Regions from separate parts of the Homo sapiens genome. Here region 2 is linked to region 1. The links are contacts of gene promoters, found by promoter capture Hi-C in blood cells and fetal thymus (Javierre and others, 2016). All regions are on one chromosome and are shown on one strand. The core of a region is centred on a gene start or on the middle of the fragment in contact, and the rest is flanking DNA. Distances in the headings are between cores, read along the strand shown.

Evidence for each region. The method cuts DNA at HindIII sites, captures the fragments that hold promoters and counts their contacts. A CHiCAGO score of 5 or more calls a contact.
Region 2: a contact is called between a fragment that was not itself captured here and the fragment with the promoter of XRCC5 in region 1, in 2 of 17 cell types (total CD8 T cells and naive B cells). The highest score is 6.2, in total CD8 T cells.

Annotation. Positions count from the first base shown.
Region 1 is chr2:216,107,970-216,110,658 of GRCh38, reverse strand. It overlaps XRCC5 (X-ray repair cross complementing 5), which reads right to left and starts at 1,311. Exons shown (of 21, transcript NM_021141.4): 1 at 1,202-1,311. The coding sequence starts at 1,222. RefSeq lists an enhancer at 966-1,587. The HindIII fragment of the contact is 16,954 bases long and covers 1-2,689 here.
Region 2 is chr2:215,335,715-215,338,403 of GRCh38, reverse strand. It overlaps ATIC (5-aminoimidazole-4-carboxamide ribonucleotide formyltransferase/IMP cyclohydrolase), which reads right to left. Exons shown (of 16, transcript NM_004044.7): 11 at 2,280-2,369. Among named protein-coding and RNA genes, the nearest start is that of ATIC, 25 kb to the right of the region's middle. The HindIII fragment of the contact is 4,008 bases long and covers 1-2,689 here.

The DNA of each region.
Region 1 (2,689 bases), core at 62-2,561:
TTATTGTCTGGAAGCAGAATGGTCTATATTTCTGAGTTCCTATCTGGCAGCAGTAAGAAAACTGAGAAAGAGAAACCGGGTAGCATAGCAACTCTTCATTTCTATACCGAAGCAATACAGGCTGTTAGAATTTTACTTCCAGTTCATCTGCAACAAACAGCTCCTCCACTAGAGCTACAAAGTTTTCAGCAGCTGAAAGAGGACGAAAAAAGGAGGTGAGTGGCATTATTAAAAGTTCATGATCGTTTTAATCAACATTTCTCAATGAGGAGTTGAGGGAACTAGGGATCAGTTGCTCAAACTCGTATCTTGTTTATCTGTATTGAATAAATTCATTAATCCCTGGAACCACATCTCCCTCTAGTGACCCTTCAGAGACAACTACCACTCTTTTATGTTGAAAAAAAAAAATCACTTTAAAATTCATTGTAATTTCTGTTACTGATCTGGGACACCAATGGTCATAGATTTCTAGCAACACAGGGGTTCTCCAGGGCCCTGAAACCAGACAGCTTGGATTCAAATCCGGATTTCACCAGGAAAAGCCCACAGTTCTTTATTCCTCGGTTTTCCCACTTGCAAAATGGGGATAAATAGTTTTCACTTCAAGGGGTTGTGAAGATTAAATGAGATAAGAATAAAAGGTTTAGATCCGTCCCTCACAGAGTGGGCTTTCAATAAATGCGGGATACTACGTTATTATAAAGCTAATAATACGACGCTTTACAGTTTAAGTTATTTTAGTCACAGATAGTCCCTCTCTTAAGTTTTACAACAAGCCCTGTGGGATAGTTGCTTTATCACAGCTAATTTTCATTCTCATAGAGATCTTAAGAACCCAGGCTCGGAAGTAATAGAGGAAGTGGGGCTAGGGAGTGGAATGGGATAAAGAGAGAGAGAGGGGAGGCGGGTGGGGAGGCAGGTGAGACAAAGAGCAGGTAGAGAGGGAGAAGAGGGATGGGATGGGTGGGTAATGGAAGAGGTGGAGTCAGCGAGGCTCAAATTCAGGTCTTGGAGCCCCAAATCTCCAGCTTTTCTCATAGCGCATCCCTCGGTCCCGGCCCTCCTGACTGAGCCCACCACCATGATCTTCTCTTGCCCCATTCTTTGTCTTGACCGCGATCCCACGATTCCTGCTTCCGAACCACCCTCTCCGGATCCCCAGTCCGGGTAAAGCCCAAGTCCATGGCTTTCTTTATACCTTATTCCCCGACCGCACCATGTTGCCGGTCCTCAGGCGCTTTGGTCGCTTCTTCCGGGCGGGAACCTGCCGTGTCGCAACTCGCTTCCGGTGGACAAGCGGCAGATAGCGGAAAGAGCCGCTTCGTTTCCTGCTAGGCCTGAAAGGGGCGGGGAAACCGTGCCCCGGAACTCTGAGCATGCGCAGATTCCCGCCGAGCTTGCGCAGATTCCCGCCGAGCTCGCGCAGATTCCGGCCGAGCATGCGCAGATTCTCTCCGAGCATGCGCAGATTCCCGCCGAGCATGCGCAGATTCCCGCCGAGCATGCGCACATTCTCTCCATTCCGCCGTAGTCGGGAGCGTGTGGTGTTTGAGCCGCCTGAAACGCTAGTACGACAGATTTACTTAAAGATTCACTTAATCACTTAAAGATTCACGTCCCTTTTCTCTCATTGAGAATAACACCTAAGGCATTTTGTGTCAGAGCTCTGGAGTTAGATTTCTTTTCTTTTTTTTACTTTTTTAAAAAATCTTTTTTCCTTTAATTTCATTTTTTCATTTATTTTTTATAACTTTTGATTTTTTTTTTTCTCATCACTTGTGGGTTTTTTTCTACTTTTTATTTTTGGTTATTGTGGAGTTAGATTTTCTTGAGTATGAGTATGAATGCAGAAAGTCACTTAACTTCTCTAAAAGACTCAGTTTCTTCTAAAAAGTGATAATGAAACACTTCACCGATGTGATAACCTTAGAGCCAACTGGGGAAGAAGAGTAGGACGTCCCCAGGAGCACAAAAGTAGAAGGGAGATTCTACTCTGCAGAGAAAATGGGATGCACAAACGCCTGGAGGCATGAGACTTTATCTGCTAAGGCTCTCCCAGTAGTTAGCAGTGGCTCCAGCTTGGAAGGGAGGAGTCAAGGTTTAATTTAGAAGACAAGTCTAGGGAGATATAGAAATAGCAGCTGTCATCACAGTGCTTTACTTGATCACGAGCCCTTTGTCCAGCCCGCATCCCCTACCCCTTTGAGGGAGGCAGGCCCAAGCAGTACCTTGCATAGAAATGACTGCTTTCTATACCATATGACCCCCAGCTGACAGGTGGCTGGACGAAGGGTCTGGCAACCTGCAAAGTGTCTGCAAACCTCTGCCCAAACTGAGAAAATCAAGTCCAATCAATATTCTCTCCTGCTTGAAAATTGTTTCTGGGAAAAGCAAGAATTGAAGCTGAAAAGATGTGGAGAATCTATGAGCCAAAATTATAAATACATTGAAGCCTCTAGAATGTAGAGTCAGACATATTCAGAGGTGCTCATAGAGCCCAGGAGGTTCTTCCAGCTTTTGATTCAAACTCAAGGAGTTACTTAAAAGCTGAAATATTATTTTTAATAATACTTTAAAGGAACAGCAGCGCCCTGGCCGCTCAGCTTTGCGCGGGCTGCAGCAGGCAGGCAGGCAGGCACGGACACTCGCCCTTCCCTGCGGGTAAGATTTCCAAGAGAAAGATCAG
Region 2 (2,689 bases), core at 105-2,604, 770 kb after region 1:
ATAAAACAGATGTGCTAATTAAATAAGCAATGGCACAAAAATTAAATTCTAATTTTCCTTTCTAAAAATCTGTTACAAAATACCCAGCTAACCCAGGAATTGAAAGCTAAAAGTGAGAAAACAGGATTTGTAATCTGTGTCTTTGCTATTTGGAAGGAATTTGTATCATTTACTGCCATCTTCCTCTCCCAAATTTTGAGCCGAAAGAACATTAAGGTGTGTGGAACAATACGTGTAACACTACTCTCTCCCTGGATATTTTTTTAAACTTGACACTATTTCTTCTTTATGCTTTGGATGATCTTTGATTTAGAAAGCCCTGACATATAATTTATAAGCAAGACCCCGTAAATATTAGTTCTGTTTAATCTACATTTTCTTGAATTCTAAAATGTTCCTTTGTATTATGCACTATAAAATTTCTAAAATTGATATGCTCTCCTATTAACTGATGCTAGGAGAAACTTATCATTAGTCAGGTAGAGGGATAAGTTGTCTCATGCTTATAATCATGCGTCCAATGTGCAAACTAAGCCAAATTCTCAAATAAGTAAAATACCAATGAAGTCCTGATATTCCTTTGACACTCTCCAACTATCAGGTGTTAAAGAGATCAAGAAAATGACTCAGGTTTTGGAAAATATTTTCCATGATGCTACAAGAAAATGCTAATGGTTGTTAAGTACATAACACTCTTAACAACAACAACAAAAAAAAAACTTGATTAAGAAACTGGGGGCCAGGCGCGGTGGCTCACGCCTGTAATCCCAACACTTTGGGAGGCCGAGGCGGGCAGATCCCTTGAGGTCAGGAGTTTGAGACCAGCCTGGCCAACATGGTGAAACCCTGTCTCTACTAAAAATACAAAACTCAGCCAGGCCTGGTAGTACATGCCTGTAGTCCCAGGTACTTGGGAGGGTGAGGCAGGAAAATCGCTTGAACTCAGGAGGCAGAGGTTGCAGTGAGCCAAGATCACACCACTGCACTCTAGCCTGGGCAACAGACTGTCAAGTGGCTAAAAAAAAATAAGTATTAACTTTAATGTGGTATTCTCTTCTTTCCTTAAATAGCTGACATGGAATCTATGGTGAACTATAAAATTATTGGTATCTTACAATCAAAAGAATATACTTAATAACTTTCCTTGTAAGGAATTAGGATTCCACAGAGTTCTGATATCAATACTATGAAAAGTAGCATTAGGAATTTTTACTTTAAATTGAAATAACTCTTTGCTTTATCAATGCATAATCTTAGACCATGAGCTACTTTTCCCAATACAGAAGAGCTCATAAAAATCAGTTAAAAAAAAAAAAAAAGCCAACAACAACTTAGTAGAAAAATCATCAAAGAATATGGAAAGACAGTTCATAGAAAGGAATAAAAACATTCAAACATGAAAAGATGCTCATACCACACACAATGTTAAAACTACATTGAGATGCCATTTTCTAACTGCAGAGACTTTTTAAAAGTATAAAACCACAATGCTGACAAAAGTGTTGGGAAACAGGCATCCTTATATATTTCAGTTAGGACAATGAATTTGCCTACAACATCTAAAAGGGGCAGTATCAATTAAGATTACCAATATACATAGAGCTTGTTATTAAGCCTTAATTTCACTCTCAGGACTTTTCTAGGTTATTCACTGCAGGGGTATTTGTAGTAGCTAAAGATTGGTGACTGTCTAGGTAAGTTAAAATACACAGATACAGGACAAACTTCCAAGAAGGTGAAGCAGGGTGCACTTGTGTCAATAGGAAAATAGAAAAAGAAATGCACATGCAAATATTTGCTGAATACATAGACTATTTCAGGAAAGATAAGCAAGAAATTTAAAATAGTTATCTTTTCAAAAGGTAACAGAAGGATGGAGAGACTTTCCATTAAATATTGTTACTATTATTAGTATTTTAGAGACATGGTCTTACTACACTGCCAAGGCTGGAGTGCAGTCGTTATTCACAGGCATCATAGTACCACAATACAGCCTCCAATTCTTGGCCTCAAGCCATCCTCCCACATCAGCCTCTCAAGTGGCTGAAATTATAGGCATGAGCCATCACAACCAGCAAAAAGTTAAAATTGAGGGTAAGAAAGCTACTCTCATCTCAAAACCCCAAGTTAATAGTATTTTTTTAAATGCAGGATTGGGGAAAATAAACTATAATAAGGATAAACTAGAAGGGTATGAGTATAAAGGAAAGAGTAAACAAGGGAGAAAGAGACACAGAATAAAAGAGCAAATTACCGCTTCAAACATGAATTGCACTCACCTGAAGGACACAATAGTTTCCATTTTTCTTTTTGGAAAGTATTGTCAAGGCTTCTTCTTCATATCCTGGGGCAATTATACCATCAGATACCTGCAAAAATATTAAATTTTAATTTCTATTTTTAAAAATCAGAGAACACCTCTTAAAAAAATCTAGCAGCAATTATCAGTCTTAAATAATGTGGCAGCATATTCTGGTTTCTGCCTCCAACAAACAATGCTAACGCTATACTTGAAAAGAGAAATCTATTAGAATACAGCTTTCTGTATAGCAGATCCTAACTTTCTGTCCTCTCCAAGTTTTTGTTCGTTTCAGTTTAAACTAAGAAAATATGACTGATTTGCTCTTAACACATGTACCTCAGGAGGAAATATTTCTTCAGGGAGTGTTTTGAATGAGCAAGAGCACAT